Linked DNA regions of Homo sapiens: regions 1, 2, 4, 5, 6 and 7 are each linked to region 3. The links are contacts of gene promoters, found by promoter capture Hi-C in blood cells and fetal thymus (Javierre and others, 2016). All regions are on one chromosome and are shown on one strand. The core of a region is centred on a gene start or on the middle of the fragment in contact, and the rest is flanking DNA. Distances in the headings are between cores, read along the strand shown.

What was found. The method cuts DNA at HindIII sites, captures the fragments that hold promoters and counts their contacts. A CHiCAGO score of 5 or more calls a contact.
Region 1: a contact is called between a fragment that was not itself captured here and the fragment with the promoter of DNAJC21 in region 3, in 1 of 17 cell types (neutrophils). The highest score is 7.6, in neutrophils.
Region 2: the fragment with the promoter of RIMOC1 here is called in contact with the fragment with the promoter of DNAJC21 in region 3 in 3 of 17 cell types (neutrophils, non-activated CD4 T cells and total CD8 T cells); the score reaches 14.7 in neutrophils.
Region 4: a fragment that was not itself captured here is called in contact with the fragment with the promoter of DNAJC21 in region 3 in 1 of 17 cell types (neutrophils); the score reaches 5.2 in neutrophils.
Region 5: a contact is called between a fragment that was not itself captured here and the fragment with the promoter of DNAJC21 in region 3, in 1 of 17 cell types (neutrophils). The highest score is 9.4, in neutrophils.
Region 6: a fragment that was not itself captured here is called in contact with the fragment with the promoter of DNAJC21 in region 3 in 2 of 17 cell types (total CD4 T cells and neutrophils); the score reaches 6.7 in total CD4 T cells.
Region 7: a fragment that was not itself captured here is called in contact with the fragment with the promoter of DNAJC21 in region 3 in 1 of 17 cell types (neutrophils); the score reaches 5.2 in neutrophils.

The regions. Positions count from the first base shown.
Region 1 is chr5:42,987,181-42,990,788 of GRCh38, reverse strand. All of the region lies in intron 1 of FLJ32255 (a long non-coding RNA gene), which reads left to right. Among named protein-coding and RNA genes, the nearest start is that of FLJ32255, 4.3 kb to the left of the region's middle. The HindIII fragment of the contact is 4,691 bases long and covers 1-3,608 here.
Region 2 is chr5:41,902,718-41,905,914 of GRCh38, reverse strand. RIMOC1 (RAB7A interacting MON1-CCZ1 complex subunit 1) reads right to left here and starts at 1,571. Exons shown (of 6, transcript NM_175921.6): 1 at 1,448-1,571. The coding sequence starts at 1,547. RefSeq lists enhancers at 1,469-1,588, 1,341-1,887, 1,999-2,138. The HindIII fragment of the contact is 10,560 bases long and covers 1-3,197 here.
Region 3 is chr5:34,927,571-34,930,869 of GRCh38, reverse strand. DNAJC21 (DnaJ heat shock protein family (Hsp40) member C21) reads right to left here and starts at 1,311. Exons shown (of 12, transcript NM_001012339.3): 1 at 954-1,311. The coding sequence starts at 1,050. It overlaps LOC124900961 (a long non-coding RNA gene), which reads left to right and starts at 1,189. Exons shown (of 2, transcript XR_007058731.1): 1 at 1,189-1,221; 2 at 1,737-3,299. RefSeq lists enhancers at 546-715, 182-827 and silencers at 856-1,055, 1,086-1,155, 1,166-1,635. The HindIII fragment of the contact is 5,598 bases long and covers 1-2,396 here.
Region 4 is chr5:43,027,661-43,031,046 of GRCh38, reverse strand. All of the region lies in intron 2 of ANXA2R-OT1 (ANXA2R overlapping transcript 1), which reads left to right. LOC105374748 (a long non-coding RNA gene) reads right to left here. Exons shown (of 3, transcript NR_188279.1): 3 at 3,351-3,386. Among named protein-coding and RNA genes, the nearest start is that of ANXA2R, 11 kb to the left of the region's middle. The HindIII fragment of the contact is 1,424 bases long and covers 539-1,962 here.
Region 5 is chr5:43,106,903-43,110,489 of GRCh38, reverse strand. No RefSeq gene overlaps it. Among named protein-coding and RNA genes, the nearest start is that of ZNF131, 12 kb to the left of the region's middle. The HindIII fragment of the contact is 2,612 bases long and covers 634-3,245 here.
Region 6 is chr5:41,918,641-41,921,976 of GRCh38, reverse strand. It overlaps RIMOC1 (RAB7A interacting MON1-CCZ1 complex subunit 1), which reads right to left. Exons shown (of 6, transcript NM_175921.6): 6 at 341-3,336. It also overlaps the pseudogene LOC100419715. Among named protein-coding and RNA genes, the nearest start is that of FBXO4, 5.0 kb to the left of the region's middle. The HindIII fragment of the contact is 6,841 bases long and covers 1-3,336 here.
Region 7 is chr5:43,009,251-43,012,495 of GRCh38, reverse strand. No RefSeq gene overlaps it. Among named protein-coding and RNA genes, the nearest start is that of FLJ32255, 18 kb to the right of the region's middle. RefSeq lists an enhancer at 1,811-2,311. The HindIII fragment of the contact is 8,923 bases long and covers 1-3,245 here.

The sequences.
Region 1 (3,608 bases), core at 641-3,140, 8.1 Mb before region 3:
TCAATATCTCCCTCCCACCATACCCCTTCTTCAGCTAGCCAAAACCTTCCCTGCTATTTGAGGCTCCTCCAATTGCCTCCTGGTCCTGTGGTTGCAAGAATAAAGGAAAAACTACACTGTTCTCACCCACATAGTTACAGACACTATGAAATAGAAGAGCAGTCTGGAGTCATTGCAAAGCAAAATACCTACCATCAGTTCTCTCTTCCTATTTCTTTTTTTTTTCTTTTGAGACAGAGTCTTGCTCTGTCACCAGGCTCGAGTGCAGTGGCGCGATCTCGGCTCAGTGCAACCTCTGCCTCCCGTGTTCAAGGATTCTCCTGCCTCAGCCTCCTGAGTAGCTGGGGCTACAGGAGCGTGCCACAACGCCCAGCTGATTTTTGTATTTTTAGTAGAGACGGGGTTTCACCATGTTGACCAGGATGGTCCCGATCTCTTTACCTCGTGATCTGCTCGCCTTGGCCTCCCAAAGTGCTGGGATTACAGGTGTGAGCCACCGTGCCCGGCCCTCTGTTCCCATTTCTACTCCAGCTTCCCATCTTAGTAAAAAAAATCTGTGAGCAACACCCTGTAGCGGGAAAAGGTAACCTGTCTTGATGGGAGTCCATAGGAGGCTGCAGGCTGCTTCCCTACAGAGACTGATATCAAGGTAGCTGCAGAATTTAGATTCTAATCCTAGTGTGATTGGAGGTGGGGTAGATTCCAGGGAGGTCAGAAAGTGATCAAATACAAAATTGTGCTCCTTTGGAGGAGGTCATAGGAACTTTGAATTATGACAATGGCTAGTAATTGGGTAGAATTGGAGCAGGCTGGTGATGGCAGTTTTGTGTGGGTGGTAGGACCTAGGAATCAAACTTGAGGGCAAATTGTGGAGCACATATGACAAACGATGTAGAGCCTTTCCTATTTCCCTTTCCAGTGTGTTATCCAAAACAATAAATAATAAAGAATTAAGAAAGACTAATATTTTTATCAATCTCATTAAGAAAAATTGCATCAAATCAAGATAACTATAATGATAAATATTGTTAGAATATTATTAACCAAATGAAAGTGACACAAAACAAAAACGGGGTGGATGGTGGGAGAGATCAAATAAAAGCAGTCTCCAACACTCAGGCAATTTGCACAGGTGAATCTTCTGGCCAGTTGTTATGTTGCAGGAAGCTGTGCAACTAATGAATGAGGAGGCAGGAATCCATATTAATACTTTCCTGATACAGAGAAATTCTTGGATTTAACAATCTGCTTCTTTGTCAGATACTGACTTTTGATTATAGGCTCAGAAAAGATGATAACAGTTATAATCACTTAGTCTAGTAGAGTAGGTAAAAGAAAGACTGTGTAGGAGGCTAGACAGAAAGCAAAAGGTAAAAGTGCCCCGGGGTAAGTCATCTAGAGTTGAAAGTGAAGAACTGTGCTTGGTACCAATGGAGGACTCCACCAGGTCAGGTTAACCTACAAAAAATGAACCATTGGCTGTTGATCTCTGGGACTGAAGATTCACCCTATCCCATTCCTGTCTAGCCTCAGCTTTACATTCACTGTGTAGCTCAAAGGTTTTTGTTTGTTTTTTTTTTTTTTTTTGTAAAACACTCTCCACAAATGTTTGATAGATTATAAAACCCTGTCCTAAGACTTTGTCATCCACAGACAATTGTCTTATTTTCAGTCCTCTTCAAAAGGTCGTTTATAATTAGCTATTGGATTTTGATAGGTGTTTTTGAATGCAGGTTTCTAATTACTCTGGAGATTGTGACATTAGAATAAAGAAAAATGTGACATGAGTCTGCTTGGGAACATTTTTTTTTTTTTAAAGTGGAATAGAGGAGTAAACTTTTAGGACTCTCATGGAGAGCTGAAGTATTCGTGAATATCAAACAGGAGTTAATTGCATGGACCGAACAAATAGAAGACTGAAATGATATTGTTGACTTTTTTGCTAAAAAATTGCTGATCCTTAAAAAATTGCTGATCCTTTTTTATGTTTTCCTGAGTCAAGGAAACTTTACTTTTGAGCTATTGACAGCTTTTAACAATTCAGTAAAGTATACTCCAGTGAACAAAATTTGGAGCATATTTCTTTCTCTTTACCTGATTTCTCCAGAATTTGGAAACTATTTGTGAATATTCTTAACTTATGTCAATGTAGTTATTTGCATAAGTGCAATAAGAATGTTTTCTTTTGCAACAGAACACCATTGGAGAAACTGGTTATTTTACCAAGGCTTTGACTGAAATGGTGTGCTTTTCTTTAAGGAGTCAAACTTGAGTTACAGAGCCAATAAAAGCTCCTTGGGAAAACAGGCCCCAAACCTTGTCTACACAGACCCTATACAGGGTTTCTGATTTGTGGTAAGTAAAGAATGTCACTTTTTGACAAGCCCAGGAGCCCCAAGTGATCTTGGGACCTCTAGAGGAGGGGAATTTACCCAACTCATATGTATTCGATGGTACAAAGCCATGGCCGGGCTCGGCTTTTAAAAAGTCTTATCTGAGACTTTTTCTATGGAATAGAGTTCCATCAAAGTCATTTAAAAAGGCTTGTGTGAAAAATAATTGTTCTTGCGGCACTTTATACAAATAATCAGACCAAGTATAATAAAGCGAATAGGTCCTACCATGATTTCTCTTTAGTAAAAATGGGAAACTGGAGAGAGAAAAATTATGTTTCAACAACTATAGTATACATGCTGTTAGATTCTAGTCTTGCCTAATGTTATTTAATTTTTATTATTTTCTACAGTTTGGACTGAATTCCAAAATTTTTTTCTGGCTAAAAGTCTCCAAAATGATGTTTTCAATTATTTTCTTCTTTCTTTTCCTTTCCCTTACCCATTTTTTCCTAATTTTAAATCACTGAAAACTAAACTGTGCTTTCTTAAAGCCCTGCAAAATGAAGCTAGACAACTTAAACTTCAGAAGTAAATAAGAACAACCTATGTACATACATAAACCACTCTCATACCTGCCTGCTGATGTATGGACTTCAAAGTATTATGGCCCATATTGATTTTCCAGAATTATCTTTTTTGGTTTGTTTGTCGCTGTTTTTCTCCTTTCCTACCCATATTTTCTCTTCATAGGATGTGAGACTTCACAACCTGCTAAAAATGAGCCCTCCTAATAATGTGTGTCCTACCCAACTGGGAATAAACCATCGTAGCCATGAGAGATCAGATGGCTCTTCTCCTCCAAATATCATGTTAGAGGAGACTCACTTTCTTGTAAAATGCTTTATCTGAAAGAATTTAAAAAGAAACGGGAGGAAATGTGAAAGGAAAATAAATCCAGGGACCCCCAAATCACTAAGCCAAAAGGAAAAGTTAAGCTGGGAGCTTTAGGGCAAACCTGCCTTCCATTCTATTCCTAAAGAATATAGCTGCTAAGTTGAAAAAGTTACATACCGGCCAGGCAAAGTGGCTCACGCCTATAATCCCAGCACTTTGGGAGGCTGATGTGGGCGGATCACCTGAGGTCGGGAGTTTGAGACCAGCCTGACCAACATAGAGAAACCCCGTCTCTACCAAAAATACAAAATTAGCCGGGTGTGATGGCACATGCCTGTAATCCCCGCTACTCGGGAGGCTGAGGCAGGAGAATTGCTT
Region 2 (3,197 bases), core at 322-2,821, 7.0 Mb before region 3:
TGGACCACTAACATTGTCATTTTATTTTAGTAAATTTTCAGAAGTATAAAGCCTTCAAACAAGAATTCCATATATAGCACATGACTTTTATTTCCAGCTCTGATTCATTCCAGATTAAAGAACTCTTCCAAGGGAAATGAGAATGGCTTTTTAGTTCAGTGATAAGTGAATAAAAAACATTCTTTGGTCTCTTTGGACTGGTTCAAGTGAATCTGGAATTAGAGGTAACATAGATAACTTTCAAGTTAATAGCTCCTACTACCCAAGAATTATTCATGTGAATCCACAGACCAAAATATAAGTCGGCTTCAGGGTGGTCTGTAGGTCTTTAAAGAACACACTCCTGGCCTGGCACAGTGGCTCACGCCTGTAATCCCAGCACTTTGGGAAGCCAAAGCGGGTGGAATGCTTGAGCCCAGGAGTTCAGGACCAACCTGGATGACATGGTGAACCCCGTTTCTACAAAATATGCCAAAGTTAGCCGGGCGAGATGGTGTGCGCCTGTTGTCCCACTACTAGAGGGGCTCCAGCCTGAGCAACAGAATGATACTCTGCCTCTAAAAACAAAACAAAACAAAACACTCCTGATAAATGATAATCTGGCAAAAAATATTCACTGAAACTAAGGCATTTCATCATAGACCCTATTTAATAACAAATTCACCAACTATTCAATCGCTTAAGAAAATGTTCCACCACTGTTTTCCTATGAGTCCGATGATATGAGTCAGTCCACAGAATTTTAAAAACTATCTGTAGTAATTGCTCAAACTCAAAAAGGAATAATGTAGAACCTAAAGGCAGCTGAGACGTAATGAAAAGAATTGGACTTAAATTCAGAAGGTTGAGGCAATTCCCTAGCCCAGTTTTTCCTAACAGCTTAGACCTTTCCAAAACAAGTATGCCAATACTTAACAGAGCCCTTGTGAGAACTGGCATGATGTATGGGGCAGAATAGTCTACACACCAATGTAAAGCTCTTCTATAGAATGTTGTTTTGAATCCAAAACGTAAAACGCAAATTACAACGCAGCAATGAAAAAGTGGAACTGTTATACATGTCTTTTTATCTTTACAGGATGCAAACCACCATAACTAATTTGAGTGTTATCATTCATCTTAGCCATTTATTTAAACTTCTGTATTTTATTTAGATTCTGCCCTTCTTCCAATCGCTACCGAGACAGTTTACACCAGCACGGATCTAGACAGATTTTCCATGGGTTCTGAATAATGCGGTTTTCGAAGACAACGCCTTGGCATTGTGAGTTCTGGGAAGTGGGCAATCGATGGCGCAGAGGGGCTCAGAAGCGACAGACCTCGGGTAACCACCTGCGGCCTGGGACCCAAAGGAACACAGGCCTCAGCCTCTAGCCCTCACAGCCATCGAGCGCCAGTACCTTAGCGCCGTCTGCCCCGCCCGCCTCCCTCTCCTCCGCTCCCTCACCATCTTCACCGGCAGCTTCGCTAAGTTGCTGTATGTGGGCCTGAGCCAGATCCCCGAGCTCTTCCACTCGTCTCACCACACTAGAGACTGCGGCCGCCATGGCCACAATCGGCGGGTGCGCCCCGGTCACGTGACCGTGTTGGCCCGCAATCACCTGATCCCCCGGCACGGGCGGGGCCTAGGGCGGACCTCTCCTGGTTGGTGGGAGGAGACATCAGCTCCGGAAGAGGGCTGGCCCAGGCCGGCAAAGGTCTTTCCGGGTCATTTTTCCCTCCTGGACTTCCCTTCCCTCCCATAATCCTGAGCAGCAAGGAGACTAGGGGCGGGTGTGACGTTGAGACACGCCTCTCTCTAGCCCCCTCCTGTAAGCCAATAGGGAGCCAGCCGTGCCCCTCGGCTGACCCAATCGGAAGTCAGCTCTCTCCGCCTGCCTCTTGGAAGACAGCTTGGTGACGTCTGGCTGGCAGGATGCGGATTGTCGTCCGCACTCCCACTTCCCTGTCCGGCGCGGGAAGCACAGTCTGGAGGGCGGACGCGAGGGTCTGGAGAGAGGACTGTCAGTTTTGGCCTTGTAGTAAGGAGGTTGCTAAAATAAAGTGATTATAATCTCCTGGTCCTAAATGGAAACCCGACCGGCCCCCTGTGTAACACATCCAAGTCTCCAAGAGTTTGTTGTACATCTGGATGGGGAGCTCCAAACACTAGTGGAGTTGCCAGTCTACATGGTTGAATATTGCTTTTGTAAATCTGATTTTTAGCAGTCGAATTTATCTCTGACCTCCCTTGGAGTTCACATTTAAAGTACTTTAGACATCTTGCGTCCAGTGGTAGTAAATTCTGCGGCCACAAAACTATTTTCATTTTTCTTTCATCTCAAGACCTTCCCTTAAGGCGCTAATTGTGCATGAGGTTCATCCTCTCAATCGGGAGTTTCAAAGCACTCAGTCAGCAAGTCTAACTTCACTTTGCATTCTGTGAATGCTTTCTTGCCTCTGGTCAAACAAATCGTTAACTCTGTGTATTCATTTCTCAGTTTGACACACTATATCTTGAATAATCTCCATCCTATTGTTTCTCATGGAAGGTAGTTTTTTATATGTAATAGAAAAATACTAAAAATAGAGAAAAAGTGTATTGTGATTTATAAGTGATTGACCACAATGACTCTCTAACTGACCTTTGTAATACCAGTTTCTTCTGACAATTCACCCTAAATATAGAGGACAGGAATCATGTATTTTGTGTCCTTGGTGCCTCATACAGTGCCTGGCACATATGCACTCTTGTCAACAAGCAAGATGGCAAGGGGATATGATGTGGTCTGTGGGAGTAGACAATTATTCAATAGTGTGGGAATTGTAGGTGAGGAAAAAAAGAATCTAAGTATAAACAAGAAGTTGAGAGAAGGCTTTCTCAACAAGGGATGGAGAAGGTGGTAGTTGAAGAGGGGCAAGTGCTGGAAGGTAGGGTGGAGAATGATCGTATCTGTACACAAAGGGGGAAAAATAGGGAAATAGGGATAAATTCAAAATGAAAGTAGGGAGCCAGCAATGGATAGAGAAAAGAGCAGAAGGTTACACCTGATGCCTTCTGAATCTTCTACAAGATGTAGAACTAAATGAAGCCTTCAGAAGATTTTACTAAACTTTTCAAAAAATAATTTTCAAAAAATAATTAACCTTTGATTAGGAATTTTCAGTCTCCTAGAAAATGTGTAATTTACCATTCTTAAACTACTTAAAAGAATTAC
Region 3 (3,299 bases), core at 62-2,561:
TTCTGGCAGTTGTATTTAACTTTTCATTTGTGTAAGGCAGAAAGTTGTTTTCCTAACAAGACTCTAAGACCCCTGTCTCAGCATTTCCAAATCTACTTAGTAGAGTGCAGTGACTTGCATATATTGGATACTCTGTAACCGTGTTTACTGATGAATGCTAATATGAAAGCCTCTTCATATGAACCTCAAAAAGCTGAAAGTCAACTACTCTCTTAGTTTCCCAGCCTGGAAGATCAGATTACTTCATAAAAGTCACACAGGCCTGGATTACAGACCAATGAAACATCCAAAGGAAGGATACTTCTAAGTAAACATACAAACTTTACTGGGGAAGCCGCCTGATTAAAACCTTCCCCGGCAGAATCATGTCCAAAGTGAAGTACAAGGTCTGCTTAAACAGCTTATTAAAAGAAAAAAAAAACAGCGAAAAAAGCGCATCCCTATTGAAAAGATATTTTACTAGCTCCCGTGTCTTAACTTCTTAACTAAGAAACGAAAAGAGCCATACATCAGGTTGAAGTATCTGGGATTCCCGGACGAGGTGGAGGGCAGCGGAGGAAAAACACCGAGAGGCTGCGCTGCAAGGGACGCAGGGAAAAGCAAGCCTGGGGCAGGTCTGAGTTCCGAGTTCCCGACTGCTCCCTCGTGGTGTCTGCGACCCGGTAGCGGGAGCAAGTGAGGTTGTTGGACTGCAGTTTTCCCCCTACAGTGGCGATGCGGGGCCGGGGTCGCGGGTATGAGGAGATGGGGTGTGAGCCGGGGTGCGCCAGGGCAGAGCGCTTCGCCCACCGAGACGGGCAGGGCGGCTCCGGGCACTGGCCGGGCGGGGCAAGGAGCTCCTAGGCCGCCAGGTCCCTCTCTGCTGGCTCCGCGGAGTCCGCCCGGGGGAAGGGAAGGTCGGGGAGGGCCGGGCTTCTCCGAGTGGCCGCGGGGGCTGCGGGACAGGTACTTACCCGGGTGCCATTTCAGGGCCAGCTTCCGATAGGCCTTCTTGAGCTCCTCCTCGCTGGCGTCGCGCCGCACCCCCAGCGCCTCATAGTGACACTTCATCGCCCGACCGGGCGGGCGGCCGGCGCTGGGGCCCGGGACGGGGTCGGGGCCCGGGCCCGGGCCGAAGCGGCGGCGGCGGCGGCGCTGGCAGTCCTCTCCGGCGGGAGTCCGCCGCCCGCACCGGGCCAGCCAGCGAGCCCGGCGGCGGCGGCGGCGGCGGCGGTGGTGTAGGTCAGTGAAGGCGCGCGGTGGCGGCAGACGACGCAGGCTGCGGCAAGCGGGAGCGCGGCGGGGGCGGTGCCGGCGGCCGCCGCTTCGCATGGGCTAGGGGTGGGCTCTGTGCCGGAAAGGGCCGCGCGGGAGGGGGTGGGGCCTCGGCGGGGTGAGAGGCGAGGCCCCGAGGAAGGAAGGCGGGGCCTTGGCGAGGAGAGAGGCGGGCCGCGCAGGAGAAAGGCGGGAGCTTGGCGGGGAAAGAGGCGGGCCGCGTGGGAGGAAGGTAGGCCTTGGCCGGGAAGAACAGGAGGAAGGCGGGACCTTGGTGTGAGAGGCGGGGCCTCGGCGGGGCGAGAGGCGGGGCCGCGCGGAAGGGAGGCAGGGCCACGCTGGTGTCATTGTGAGGGGCACAGATGGCGGTCAGTGTGAGTGGCAGCCGACCTGAGGGCTGAAGGGGGAGATAGGAGCTGGGATGGGAGAGGATTCTGGAAAATATCTGATTATAATTTCTCAATGGATCCCCGTTTTTATAGATAAGGCGATTCAGACTCCAAGTGGTCAAGTGGTTGGCTCAAGCCTCCTCAGCTAATACAGTAGCAGAATTCGGTTGGACTGAATATCAGGTTTTTTTTTTAATCTCTTTAATTCTCTTCAGCTGCCACTTAAGATATCTGGTATTGATCATCTTGACCAATATGCTTGAGAAAGGACAGTTAGATTATTTAAGCGGAAACAATTTAAAAGGGAAGCATCAACACACTTAATGAAAAGCCTTACCACCAACATGGATGAAATTGTGCTGATCTATCCATCCAACACACTTTAATCCTAACTTTCTGGCCTCTAATCCTACCTTTCCAAGATTGGTTTAGGTTAAGAAAGCAGTTAAAGGATAGTATTTAACTGGTAGGTTTTGGTTGATCTGACTATCTGCACAATTATTCCAAACACTTTGAAAGGTATCAAAATAATACCATAATTATTAAAATGCATTAATACACCAATATATTTCACTGTAATGTGGAATGTTTACATGCATCAGTTAGGTGTGGGTTGTATTTACTAACCATGTATGGTTAGCTATGTTGCTAATATCTATTGCACAGGGTTGGCGTACCCAAGCGGTTTAGTAAGGTTATCCTTCTCTTCCCCAATATGCTGCCCCCAGTAAAATAAAAAACCCACGCTAAGCTTCATCAGGTTACTTCACACGCCACTGACCAACCAACTCACTACTCAGAATTCATACACTTCCCTTTTTTCCAGAGGAAGATTCTACACAGTCTCAGTTAGTTGGTAAATTGGTAATGGATAAGGATTGAGAAGTCTGAGTTTGGGGGAGAATGAAACCTTTCCCCTCCTGAGAACAGAATTGGGATGGTGGGCGGGGGGAAGGGAGGGACAAAAAAAAAAAAAAAAACGGAAAGGGAAAGTATTTTTTTCCCTCCAACTTAATTTGGAGTATTTTCTCCCTCCAACTTGATTTGGTTTTGGATACAGCCTGTAGGAATCACTTACTTCTTTTACCTTCTGAAGTAAGAAGGATTTTTGCCTGTAACATTGTATAATTAAAGGTAACTATGCTGGATATAAATTTCAGTCTAAAGGAACATCTTGACCAGGCGTGGTGGCTCATGCCTGTAATCCCAGCACTTTGGGAAGCCGAGGCAGGAGGATCCCTTCAGCCCAAGAGTTCAAGACGAGCCTGGGCAACATAGCGAGAACTTGTCTCTACAAAAAAAAAAAAAAGCCAGGCATGGTGGCGTGGGCCTGTAGTCCTAGTTACTCAGGAGGCTGAGGCAGGAATACTTGAGCCCAGGAGTTAGAGCCTGCAGTGAGCTATGACCACACCACCACACTACAGCCCTGGGTGACAGAGCAAGACCCTGCCGCTAATAAATAAAGGAACATCTTTTATTAAACTGGTGCCCTTTAAATGACCAGACTTTAGAGATGATCCATTCCAGAAGAATTCTCAAATAAGATATCCATATAATTGTGAAAGGGAATTTGAGATATAAGGATATCTCTATTATGGAAACTGTTAATTGAAAATTGTGAAATTGGAAATTACACCAAAACTCCACAATGCACAC
Region 4 (3,386 bases), core at 1-2,500, 8.1 Mb before region 3:
TGTATGTGTGCAATAATATACAATGGAGCTGACAGGGCACACAATCCCCTGGGCTCAGGGTTGGTGGCCTCTGGAGTCCTGGTGCCTAGTCTGTTGAATCCCAGGCCTGATGCACCCCAGAGGAAAGTCCTGCCCCTGCTGCACCCCAGGAGGAAAGTGCTGCTTCATGGCATCCATCTCACAATTGGTGACAGAGTATCTGGAACTTAGAAATCTCCAGCATTTGTGTTTCTATACTCTTCTGCTCTCTTGGGTGGTTCTAACCAGATAACAAGAAACTGGATGATAACTTCAGTCTTAGAAGCAAATTTCCTTAGGAGATAGAATTAATGATACTAACATAAAATCCTACCGTCTGGGGTGAAATTATCTAGATTAGGACAGATTGGTTTTGCAGATGAAAGGAAAAAGTACTACCATGTCTGTGGAGGAAAAGCTGTTTTTATGGTGCCTGGCTTTAGAAAGTTCATTATTGCCCCCAAATCACATTGCTAGTCCTAGAGCAGAGACTAGAATCCTTTCTACCAGGAGAAAAGCTTGGGGTTAATGTATAAAGCAGATATGGGGTGTTACTGAGGAGCTGGGTAAGCATAGTTGCCCAATTGTTAATGTGGTCTTTCACTCTCCCAGTTTTGTCTTCTGCTGAATTGCTGTATTAAAAAGATTTTGGCCAGGTGCAGTGGCTCAGAGCTGTAATCCCAGCACTTTATGAGGTGAGGCAGGCGGATCACTTAAGCCCAGGAGTTTAAGACTATCCTGGGTAACATGGCGAAAAAAATACAACAATCAACTGGGCAAGGTGGTGCATGCCTATAGTCCCAGCTACTTGAAAGACTGAGCCGGAGAGCCACCTGAGCTTGGGAAGTTGAGGCTGCAGTGAGCCGAGATTCAGCTTACTGTACTCTAGCCTGAGCAGCGGAGTGAGACCCTGTCTCAAAAAACAAAAAGAAAAAAGATTTAGGCTGGGCACGGTGGCTCACGTCTGTAATCTCAGCACTTTTGGAGGCCAAGGAGGGAGGATCACCTGAGGTTAGGAGTTCGAGACCAGCCTGAGCAACATGGAGAAACCCCGTCTTTACTAAAAATACAAAATTAGCTGGGCATGGTGGCACATGCCTGTAATCCCAGCTACTCGGGAGGCTGAGGCAGGAGAATTGCTTGAACCTGGGAGGCCGAGGTTGCGGTGAGCTGAGATCACCACATTGCACTCCAGCCTGGGCAACAAGAGCAAAATGCCATCTAAAAAAAGAAAGAAAGAAAAAAGATTTCAACACTTCTGCTTGTGTGTAATAGCAAGAAGTTTCAGGCCCCACTGGCTCGGTTACAGAGAGGTTACATGCCATTCTAGATGTGTGAACCTCTGTAAGTTATCCAACCCGGTAGCCTTTATTTTAACCACCTCAGAAATGGAAGCCAAATGTGCTTTCATTTTACAAAGTAACTATCAGGGATACTTTTGATGGAAAAAGTTAATGTTTGGACAGTATCTGGTTGAAAGTAATTAGGTCAGTTTTTAACAATATTATCGTTGATTTTATCATAAACTGAAAGATATTCTTAATCAGAACGAATGTAAAATGAATCCTTCTTTGTTGTATTCTTGCTGTGGATTTTTTTTCCTTCTCATATCCTCTGTGAAACTGGAATTTGTCTGAGTTAAACATGCTATTTGGAAAGCATCAATGGATACAATTATAGAATTACCTAATTAAACATTATTGTTTACTATGGTAAAATCTGATTGATCCCAACATTTAGCAAGCATGTTTTGATATCCTTCTGTGTTCCAGGGGCTATAAAGGGAGCCACAAATACAAAGATGAGGAGTTGGCTGCAGTTTTCACAACTCTTACTAATGAGAGAATAAAGACTCTGTCAGGAGATCATTCAGAACACAGCTAACTCTGTGTTTATTCCAGGAGCTGATTTGAAGACCAGAAAGAAAAGGTCTGAATTGAAGCTTCCCTTCAAAGCCATGCTTCTTTTTACTAGAAAAAAGGAAAATATGCAACTATACAACAGGAAGTGAAAAAAATGAAACAGAATGAGAATGACAGAATAGATACAGAAGGCAGAAGATTGAAAGCTCTTGTTAGGTGAAAGGTTTATGGACTCTAGGTGTCTGGAGAATGAATCCTGAGAGCAGGAGCAACTCCTACATGCCAGTATTACTCGAGAAGTACCAGTGGTGATCCCAGAAAACTAGCTTTAGCATTTTTTTTTTTTTTTTTTTGAGACGGAGTCTCCCTCTGTTGCCCAGGCTGGAGTGCAGTGGCGCGATCGTGGCTCACTGCAAGCTCCGCCTCCCGGGTTCATGCCATTCTCCTGCCTTAGCCTCCCAAGTAGCTGGGACTACAGGCACCCGCCACTACACCCGGCTAATTTTCTGTATTTTTAGTAGAGACGGGGTTTCACCGTGTTAGCCAGGATGGTCTCGATCTCCTGACCTCGTGATCCGCCTGCCTCGGCCTCCCAAAGTGCTGGGATTACAGGCGTGAGCCACCGCGGCCGGCCTCTTTAGCATTTCTTTGAGTATGTAGCCTGGATGTGTCTCTCCAGATGTGAACAGTGGATGGAACCTTGCATTGTAGAGAGTTGGCAGTGCTCTGCATGGGTATAACACACAGAGTAGTGACCATTCCCAAAGGAGACCCATGTCACACAGGCAGAGACCTGCTGTCCAGACTCTTATGCAGACATACTTCTCCCTCCAACATGTGCAAAGGAATGTACTATTTCTTTTCAACTTCCCCAGACAAAAACTGTTAAGGCAGGTGATACTTTCTCAGGGAATGTTGATTTACACATACTGCAATTATAATATTATCTGAAAAAAAAGAAATCTGCAAGTGATCTGAGGGTAAATGCTGCAGCTGCAAGCCCCACTTGCAAGTATTCTCAGGACAAATGGGAAATGGGTTAAATGACTGCGTATAGTATTTTGCTTTTACATGTTATTTATATTATGTTACATCCTCCAAGAATTAGCGTGTCATAACTTAGAGAATAAAGAACTCAGCTGATATAGGGGTCAACTAATCTGATAAACTTAGGAAGAAAATGTAGAAATATACCATCAAGCGTTATCAGTTACAGCTTTCTTACAAATGCCTTTGCTACATCTTTGGCCAACCTGATAATTTATGGAGTCAATATCATATACGTGGGCACTGTATCATCAGTAGTTTAACAATTCAATCAAAACTAAATCAAAACTTCCACCTTTATCTAATCATGTATCATTTTTGCCTAGAGGCCAGCAGGCCATCTTGGGCAGAAGACTACAAGATTTTTTTAGTCTAGATACCTCCCATTTAGTTCACTGAAAGCCATTAATTGCTTTCTCTTTGTCCATGGCTGTAACAAACGTTTATTTTTATTTTGGA
Region 5 (3,587 bases), core at 690-3,189, 8.2 Mb before region 3:
CTCCCGCCTCAGCCTCCCGAGTAGCTGGGACTACAGGCGTCCGCCACCACGCCCGGCTAATTTTGTTTTTGTATTTTTAGCAGAGATGGGTTTCACCATGTTAACCAGGATAGTCTCGATCTCCTGACCTCGTGATCTGCCCGCCTTGGCCTCCCAAACTGCTGGGATTACAAGCATGAGTTACTGTGCCTGGCCGAAACAATTTTTTTAAACCTCAGTAAAGTAATAGACAATATAAAGAAGAAGCAAATTGAAATTTTATAACTGAAAATTCAATAACTGAAATTAAAAGTTCAGTGGATGAGCTGACCGGCATACTAGAGAATACAGAGAATCAGTGAAGTGGAAAACAAAAGAATCAAAACAACCCAATTTAAAGAGCAGAGAAAAAATTGACGGGGGAAAAAAATAAGTAGAGCATCAGGAATCTGTGGGGCTGTAATAGAAGATTTAACATTTGTGTTCTCAGAAACCCTGAAGGAGAGGAGAAAGAGTGAGGCTGAGAAAGTACTTGAGGAAATAATGGCTGAAAACATCCCAAATGTGGTAAGATTTGGTACAGATTCAAGATGCTGACCAAACCCTAGAAAGTATAAACTGAAATAAATCGACACCAAGAAACATAATTAAGCTTATAAAAATTAAAGGCAAAAAAATTATTGAAAGCAGTCAGAAAAAGAAACAAAACCCAAAACCTCGCCTACAGAGAAAAACAATTCAAATGACAGCAAACCTCTGATCAGAAACCACAGAGGACAGAAGGATGTGGCACAATATTTTTTATGTTGCTGCTGCTCAATTCTCAACCTCCTATTGAGATTCCAAATACCCGTTTATTAGGTTTTCTTGTTGTACACTCTGTGTCTTTTCCCATCTGTTCTGTATTTCCCATCTCTTGTCTTTTCTCCTTGTTTCCTCATGGACATTTTCTTCTGATTTTTCTTCCAGTTCACTAATTCTCTTCAGCTGTGCTAATCTTCTGTTAAACTCATTGAGTTATTGATTTGGTTGCTATATGTTTCATTTATTATTATTTTGAGGCAGAGTCTCACTTTGTCACCCATGCTGGAGTGCAGTGACGCAATCACAGCTCACTGCAGCCTCTGCCTCCGAGGTTCAAGCAATTCTGCTGCCTCAGCCTCCCGAGTAGCTGGGATTACATGAGCCCACAACCACACCCGGCTAATTTTTGTATTTTTAGTAGAGACGGGGTTTCACCTGTTGGCCAGGCTGGTCTCAAACTCCTGACCTCAAGTGATTCACCTGCCTCGGCCTCCGAAAGTGCTGGGATTACAGGCGTGAGCCACCGTGCCTGGCCATGGCTGCTTTATGTTTTAGTTATTTTTGCTTCTTTATTATCATTTCTAATTTTCTATGAGTTTCTCAATCTTGTCTTTTATTTTCTTATTCATATTGAATGGTATTTTACAGTCTGTGTCTCGGTATCTAGAGACTGTTTCGTTGTTGCTTCTCTCAGTGTTTCTTCATGTTCTATTGCCTTTCATTTTCTTAAAATTGAATGCTGGATACTGTATGGGAAATTTTTTACAAACACTTTGAGGCCTGCAATAATTTTATCTTTCTCTATAGAAGAATTTTGCTTTTGGTTGGCAGCTAGGGGTATTGGCAATTGGGATAACCTTAATTCAATTTTAGAAATGGAGATAATTCGGCTGGGCACAGTGGCTCACGCCTGTAATCCCTGCACTTTGGGAGGCTGAGGCAGACGGATCACAAGGTCAGGAGTTCGAGACCAGCCTGGCCAACATGGTGAAACCCTGTCTCTACTAAAAATACAAAAATTAGCCGGGCGTGGTGACACATGTCTGTAATCCCAGCTTCTCGGGAGACTGAGGCAGGAGAATCGCTTGATCTCAGGAGGTGGAGGTTGCAGTGAGCCAAGATTGTGCCACTGCACTCCAGCCTAGGCGACAGAGCGAAACTGTCTCAAAAAAAAAAAAAAAAAAAAGAAAGGGAGATAATTCGAAGATTAACTTACTTCCTTTTGAGAACTAGTTTATTACCAGTTCTCCTTTATTCCTAGGGTGTAGCACCTTAGGCTTTTAACCCACATCTGAGTCCTCCTTTTTATTAAGATTGTTTGGAGCTGGGCGCGGTGGCTCACACCTGTAATCCCAGCACTTTGGGAGGCCAAGGCGGGCATATTACTTGAGGTCAGTAGTTCGAGACCAGCCTGATCAACATGGAGAAACCCTGTCTCTACTAAAAATACAATATTAGCCAGGCATGATGGTGCATGCTATAATCCCAGCTACTTGGGAGGCTGAGGCAGGAGAATCGCTTGAACCCGGGAGGCTGAGGTTGTGGTGAGCTGAGATCTCGCCATTGCACTCCAGCCTGGGCAACGAGCAAAACTCTTCTCAAAAAAAAAAAAAAAAGATTGTTTGGATTTATTCTCATTGTTCATTTCTGAGATGTTATCACTAAAGACTCCTTTAAATATTCCATTTTTGTGTAAGTTGGTAATCAATGTTTTGTCCTTAGTTGGGTCAGACAGAGTTAAAAGGGAATCAGTGCCCATGCTCATGGCTAGCTTGATAGTGATAGTGATCAATGAGTTTCAAAAGGCTAGGAGAAAACCAGGGAGCAATAGTGAGAAAGCATGAGTTTAGTCAGGCTCCCTCCCTCATCACCCCTTGTGTGTAAACTTTAGAGTCCAGAGCATTATTTTTAGTGATGAAGGTAACACTTTTATATGTTCATTGGGTTCTTCTGAATCTTTTAAGCTCCTGTTGTTTTCTTTGAGGGCCAAGCGAACAGAGTCCTGGCCAAAAAATAACATTATAGTGGTGAAGATAGAGACATTGAGGGTTGTACTGATAACCTGTGATAGGGAGAAGATGTGGATGGTTTTAGTGCAGACCCTTGATTTGAATATACTTGTAATCAAATAACTTGTGTTTTCCTGAAATAGAGATTACTAATAATATCACTTAATAAGATGACATTAGTTACATAAAAACAGACAAGGTAGCTGTATCAACACATTTAGAATCTTTATTGAAAAAATAAGAATAGCAGAATAGGACATGGAATTAATTGAAAAATAAAGAATACATAGAATGATAAAATTCAGCACTCTCATAGCTCTGACTAAAAAAAATATTTTTAAAAATTCAGCATGCTTTCTCTCAGCACTGAGCAGTGCAGTTTAGGACATGTTTTTGGCAAATTGTTGGTATTGGTTTGTCTTAAAGGATTCATGCATAGGGCTTAAGAAAGCTTCCTCTTACACGGTACTAAAGTGGCCTATTAATGTGTCTCTCTCCCCTAGATTAGAATTTTTTTGAGGAAACTGAGACTATATCTTCTCTGTGGTCTCCTAGAGGTCATCAGGGCCACTTTCATTTTAGAGGTTCCTGGTATATTAAAAAATCAAGAAATCGGCCAGGCGCAGTGGCTCAGGCCTATAATCCCAGCACTTTCGGAGGCCGAGGCGGTCGGATCACGAGGTAAGAAGATTGAGACCATCCTGGCTGACACAGTGAAACCCTGTCTCTACTAAAAATACAAAAAAATTAGCCGGGCGTGGTAGCGGGTGCCTGTAGTCCCAGCTACTATGGAGG
Region 6 (3,336 bases), core at 333-2,832, 7.0 Mb before region 3:
GCTCTTATATACTACACACTGAACTAAAGCACTCTGAATATTAACTTATTTATCTTCAATATCCTTGAGGTAGGTACTATTACTGCCTTAAAAATAAGATAAGGCAGCACAGGAAGATTAAATAACTTAAAGAGAGTCACACAGTTAGTATTATAAATGGCAGGGCTATGATTAAACTCAGGCCTTCTGGCTCCAGAGCTCAGAATCCTAACCACTATATTACCCCATCTTTAAAAGTTATTAGGACCAGAAGAAATAACATTCAGAAGTTAAAATAGTAAACTGAGATGATAAAAGTTTTAATTCTGATGCAACAGCCAAATATAAAACAAGCAACAAGTAGGGGTGTATGGTTTTATTTTTTTAAAAATGTATATGCTCAATAACAGTTTACTTGGAAATTTTCACTAGAAGAAATAACATGAAAGAACACCAGCATAAATACATAATACATACTTTAATTGTGGCTATATTAAATGTATCTTAATGTAATACCGCTGTAACATGGTATCATCTCATTGTTAAAAATTAAAAAAAAAAAAAGAACATAGGGAAGTGAAACTAAAAAACTATAGAATCCTGGATTCTGTGGCAGATGGAGTACCCTTATTTAAGCTAGAAAAGGAGCCCTGTAAGGTAGAAAGAGAAAAGAGGCAAGCAATCTGAAACCATCATGTTAACCAACTGTGAGTTTTTAAAAATGTGGTTAAAATGAATCTAAGAATGCCTTTTAACACAGCTCACACTTTAATGAACACCAGAGAATTCACAGCAAGACTGTAAAGCTAGGAATGTAAAGTTATTGTGGGGTTTTAGCCACGACCCTCACCTCACTCTACTATATGCAAAAGAAGAAAGAAAAGTCTTTAGTCATGATTTGCACCTTAATCAGCATCAATTATTCTCAGCAGCCCAAAACCCTATAAATGCAGCAGAGCACACAGGTCTTTAACTAAGTCTAAAAGCCTAGTTAACATCAAAAAAATTCATATTGGGAAAGAGCCATACACATTTAACGACTGTGAAAAGTCCTTTAACAGAGTTTTGGTAACCATGAGAGAATTCAAACCGAAGAGAAACCCCAAGTGTAAAAAATGCAACAAGGCCTTTAGGTATCACTCAACCATTAGCAAAATCCATAGGGGAGAGAAACCTTTTATGTGTAGCTGAAATGATAAAGTCTTAAGTAGTGACCCATTCCTTAATTCAATATCAGAACTTCTGTAAGAAAGAAACTTTATCAATGTGCGGAATACGCAAGGTATATAACCAAAGGAGAGAAATTTGAAGACACAAATGCTAAAGCAGTAGACAGTTCCCAACCACCCCTAAATATGATGGCATCCCACCCCTCTCCCTATCACACTAGCCCCTTACCCTCATTTATTCTTCTTCATGGTACTCATCACTTGACACTCTCTATACATTTATTACTTAAAATGCTTGTCTAACTTCCTCCACTAGAATATAAGCTCTGAAACAGGAGGGGGTTTTAAAAAGCTATATCCTCAGGGTCTAGGATAAAATCTGGCATATGGTAGGCATACAATAGTTGAGTGAATTTAGTGTAGTACTTTCCTTATGTGGGGTATTTGGTACCTTGAGGTTACTTCATTCTAAGTGAATGATTTAGCAGGCTTTAACATATATAAAAATGTGTTCATTATTCTATAATACACCAGAGTAAAAAGCATTTTAACTGCCATGGTCTACAAATTATTCTCCAACTGTGTGGGGGATGGAAAGTTGTATAAAAAGCACCCAGTACTACCCTCATAATTGTACCAACCAGTGAGACCAAGTGGTCTACCAGGGTCACGAAGGTAAAATGAAGTTTCCAACTTCTTAAGAGAAAGTTCTCTTTTCTCAGGTTCAGAATCTAAACACTTTACTCCTCTCAGGATGGCATATATCCCTATATGCCTTGTCAGCCACTGGTATAGAGGGCATAGCAGTTTGGAATCCAATAGCAACAACTTTTTGTGCAAAGTTTGGCATTTAGAATCATGCCTCATTAATTCAAAAACATTACTAAGGGCCTACCATGCATTAAGCACTATGTATACAGGTAAATTTTTAAAATATGGAGTTTACCAACAATAAAGAAAATAATTACAAAGCAGTGTGATCAGTGCGACAACATGGGAGGGGAAGAGTAAAGGACCAGAACAAAGGAGCATCTAATTTGACTGAAAAGGGCTTTAAAAAGCCTATGAAAACAGAATCACTGAAGCTGAGTCCTAAGAGGTAGGTAGGTATTCACTTGGTCACAAAGAAGGATGCAGAAGTAATGATGTGTGCAAGGCTACTGAGGTGGAAAACACACAAAGCGCATTTAGGGAAGAAGTGGAAGTACTTGCAATTGATCAGGATGCTCTAAAAAGAGGGATAGTCTGTGGTTCTAAAAACCGTATTAAAAATAATTTAAATCTTTATACTTAGAAAGCACAAAGGTATTTTCATAAGAAAACTTGCTAAAATGCTAAGTTAAATAAAAATCTTAGCTGTGTAATGATAAACAAGGGGGCTGGGGCAGGAACTGAGAAATTCCCTTTGCCACAGAGGCTCTATATCAGAATTTGTATGTTTACCAAAAGCAGCCTGGATTTTAACTGTTTGAGCAACACTGGACTAGAACATGATTACACAGGATGACTGCAGAGACATGGCTGGGAAGGTAGTCATTCTGTGTTGCCCTGATCTGCGGAAAATCCCAAAAAGAGAAAACTTACAAAGCAGAAAGGATTTTATATAACAGATGAGGACTTGACGTTTGGAAACACTGAGCTTAAAATTACTGTGGGATGTCTAATGAAGATATTTGATAGACAGTTAGAAACAAGGTTTAGAAAGCAAGAGATAAGTCAGGATACAAGTTACAGGTTTGAGACTCAGTCTGTTATTACAGGTGGTAAAAGAAGCCATAGTTATGAATGACATTGTATAAAATATGTAAAGTAAAAAAAAAAAAGAGAGAGAGAGAAAAAAATATAGTGAAGATCAATACCTAAAAGGTAGGCAGAAAGTGAGACAACACTTTGTGGGGAAATGAGAGAGACAGCGAAGATGAAACCAACATGTAGCACAGAGTCGCCTTTGATAGGAAGCAGGCAACCTCTTTTCCTCTAAAATGGGAAAATGAGTAAAGTTGGTAAATACAAGTTGACCTCTTCATAGTCTCAATTTTCTGTTCAATAGGAGAAAGAGCCATATGCTAGGGGAGGGGCAGAGGGCCTAAGGAAAGTAATGAAGTTTGGCTCAGCCACAGCGGGAAATGGGAGAGAGGCCACCCTAGTAACAAACATAAGGTTTACATTGAGGGCTTTTCTAAGGCTG
Region 7 (3,245 bases), core at 230-2,729, 8.1 Mb before region 3:
AACCTGGGAGGCGGAGGTTGCAGTGAGCTGAGATCCCGCCACTGCACCCCAGCCTGGGCAACAGAGCAAGACTCCATCTCCCCCACCCAAAAAAACATCTTTAAAATTTAGCTTTTAAAACACATTTAGTTATTATTTTACTGTGTTTATTCTTCGTGGTTAGGCACATTTATGCCTTTTTGTTTCCTCCCTTGAGTTGTGGGCCTGGACTCCTAAAACCTCCATTTCTAAATTTGCCTTACCAACAGGGTCACAATGGTAGGCAGGCTTAGTGGGACATGAGGCAATAAAAAGATGAACAGTCATTCTGGTTATGGCTTGGCAGTGGGATGGCAGCACATTAGCTTGGCTCTCACGGTGTGGGCTGCTTTGGTTTCTTTTCCTAACTGAACTCTGACAGGTAGAGTCCTCATGTCCAGGAATAATTCCAGAAAACAATAAAAAAAAAAAATTGGTTTTCAGACCAGGACACAAACATAACCATAGTAGATGAGGGCTCACTCATTTACTAAACTTGAATGTGGTTATTACTTCATTGCTATTGTAAACCAAAAATAAAATTTGAAGCCCCCTGCCACCAACATCTGAATGGACCCCTCTTCTCCGCCAAGGGCATTCCAAAGTTAGACTGAAAAAGTAGTTTCAAGCCATGCTGGGAAGGGGGAGTCAGACATGCCTCATTATATTCTCCTCTCTTTTAAAATTATTGATAGAACAGACTCTTTAAGTCTGGTTAGAAACATTTACAATCTATCTCTCTGAAGTCTTCCACCTGGAGGCTTCATCTGCGACACCTTTGTCTCTGGAACACCTTATGGCAACCCAGGCATTCCTTTCTAGAGATAATAGTTATTGCAACAAATTGCCAATCATAAAATTTTTGAACCTCTCCAACTTGAAAGATCATGCTTCCAGTTGTACTGCCTTTCTGGACTGAACCAATGTACAACACCTTAAATGTATTGATCTCATGACTTCCTAAAATATATATAAACCAAGTTGTGCACTGACCACCTGAAGCACATGTTCTCAGGATCTCCTGATGGCTGTTTCATGGGCTAATGGTCACTCACATTTGGTTCACAATAAATCTCATCAACTATTTTACAGAATTTGACCCTGTGTCTGCTGGACCTCCCAGAAGAGCAGCAGCACATGTGCTGATTTCTTTGGGTTTCAAAATTGACAACAGTCAATGGAAAACTGGATTCCAAATTCTACCAGAGAATACTGTGCCAGGTGCTTTCAGTGGGACCCTTGCTGTCTCTGGGATTTCAAGTGCTATTACAATGGTCTCCCCCAGGGCACATTAAAGGACTGGTGAGATCCCTAACTGGCATGGCTCCAGAAGTGATGTGGAAGTTAGGAAACTCAGGCAGTCATTGATTTCCCAGCCCCACTGACGCTTTTCCTCTATCTCCTGGCTGAGAAAAGAAGACCAGGAAGAGCCGTGAGGGACTTCCAGGGTGGCATGTGGCTGTCTCCAGCACACGTACATAACCTGGATTATATCTGTAACAAGCTATGCTGATGGATCAGCAGGTTAACCCAAGCTGAAAAAAGCAGTCAAGCACTTCCTTTGGTGTGTGAGGCAGAAACCAGGACATCTGCTGGTCCACCAGGGGACAAAAATCAATCCTATTTCACCAATGTGTCTCCTCCGTGTGGGGAGTATAGGGCATTGAAGGTGGATGAGAATCACCATCCACCTTCTGCTGCACAGGAAAGACAAGGGAAGACTCCAGGGAAGACAGAGGAGGAAAACGTCGAGCAGCCCCAGGTGGATGTGTCTGTGTGTGTGTGTGTGTGTGTGTGTGTGTGTGTGTGTGTACCTTGACAGTGGGTAGAGGAAGGGAGAGGAGGGTTGAGGTCTTCCCACTAGAGGAGTGAAATGAGCAGAACTGAGAAAAGAGGTCAGAGAAAAGAAAGAGGAACCTACAAGCCACCACAGAATTTTCTTTCCCCAGAGAATGGTCTCTTGCCCGACTAGGGGCTGGGTATCCTTGTGAAGTCACCGGAGGTTTTCAAGGGGTGGGCTTCCTGGCTTCAGTAGACTCAAGGTCCCTAAGGTCCAGTTAGGATAGGCGCCTGGGAGGGCTCCCGAGTTGGAATAAGAGTCGGAAGAACTGACAGGGCTGGGGGCGCACTAAGCACACTCTACTCCTGAGAGGTGAGGGTGGGGATGTTGGAGGGAAAAAGGGCTGCTTTTTCCTGCCTGCAGGCTTCAGATTCACAGGGGATGTGAGGAGAGGGCGGAGGAGGAGGAAGCAGCGGCTGTTTATGCTGGGAAGATGGCTCAGTTGAGAAGTGAGGCAGATGTGGCCTCAGAGGGTCTGGCGGATGGCTGCCGGGATCACCGGGGGCTGGACTTTGAGATGTCCAGGACGAAGTGTTGCCCTTTCAGTGCTGCCCTCCCTGTGTCTGCTGGAACTGTTGGAGCCGCAGTGCAGCCTAATTTTGACTTCAGGTAAAATAATTCAATATACTGAGGCCCAGGGGGAACAAAGCAAGGTCTACTCCATATCTCTGAACAGCTGGTGTCTTTCAGTGCCTAAACTCAATCAGAATCCTGGGAGCAAAAGTAGCTCTCCAGTGCAGTCCATGCAGGTTACTTCTTGCAACATAGAGGTGACTGAAGCATGGTAAGCAGATCTAGAAAGGCAAACATCTCTAGCAGATCTAGAGAGGCTAGCCAATGTTAGCTAGCAGTGTCTTTATGTTGATAAACCTATTCAGAATGTTAACTTTGTTTGTTGGTTTGTTTGTCCATTTTTGTCTCCCAGGCTGGAGTGCAGTGGTGCGATCTCGGCTCACTGCAACCTCCAGTAATTCTCCCGCCTCAGTCTTTCCAGCAGCTGGGATTACAGGCTCCCCATCGCCACACCCAGAATTTTTTGTAGAGACGGGGTTTCGCCATGTTGCCCGGGCTGCTCTCAAACTCCCGATTTCTTAGTCTGACCAAGTCAGGGTTTAGCTATTTCTTAGCGTAGCAAGTTGAGATTTATTCCAGTTTCGATTTCTAGTTGTAACAATGCTGGCTTTAACCGTGCCTACGTAGTCGTTGCAAGTTCCTGTTTTGTAATAGGAACCCCCATTATAGCCGTTCGTACGGTTTTTAAGTCTTGTAGAAATCTGGGTACTGGAGAATGTAATTAAAAAAAAAATTTAGCAGTGCCTGAAATCTTTTAGTCATACCAAGTGTGATTTCACAATAGAGATTCTCGCCCTGGCTGTGCTTGTGATTT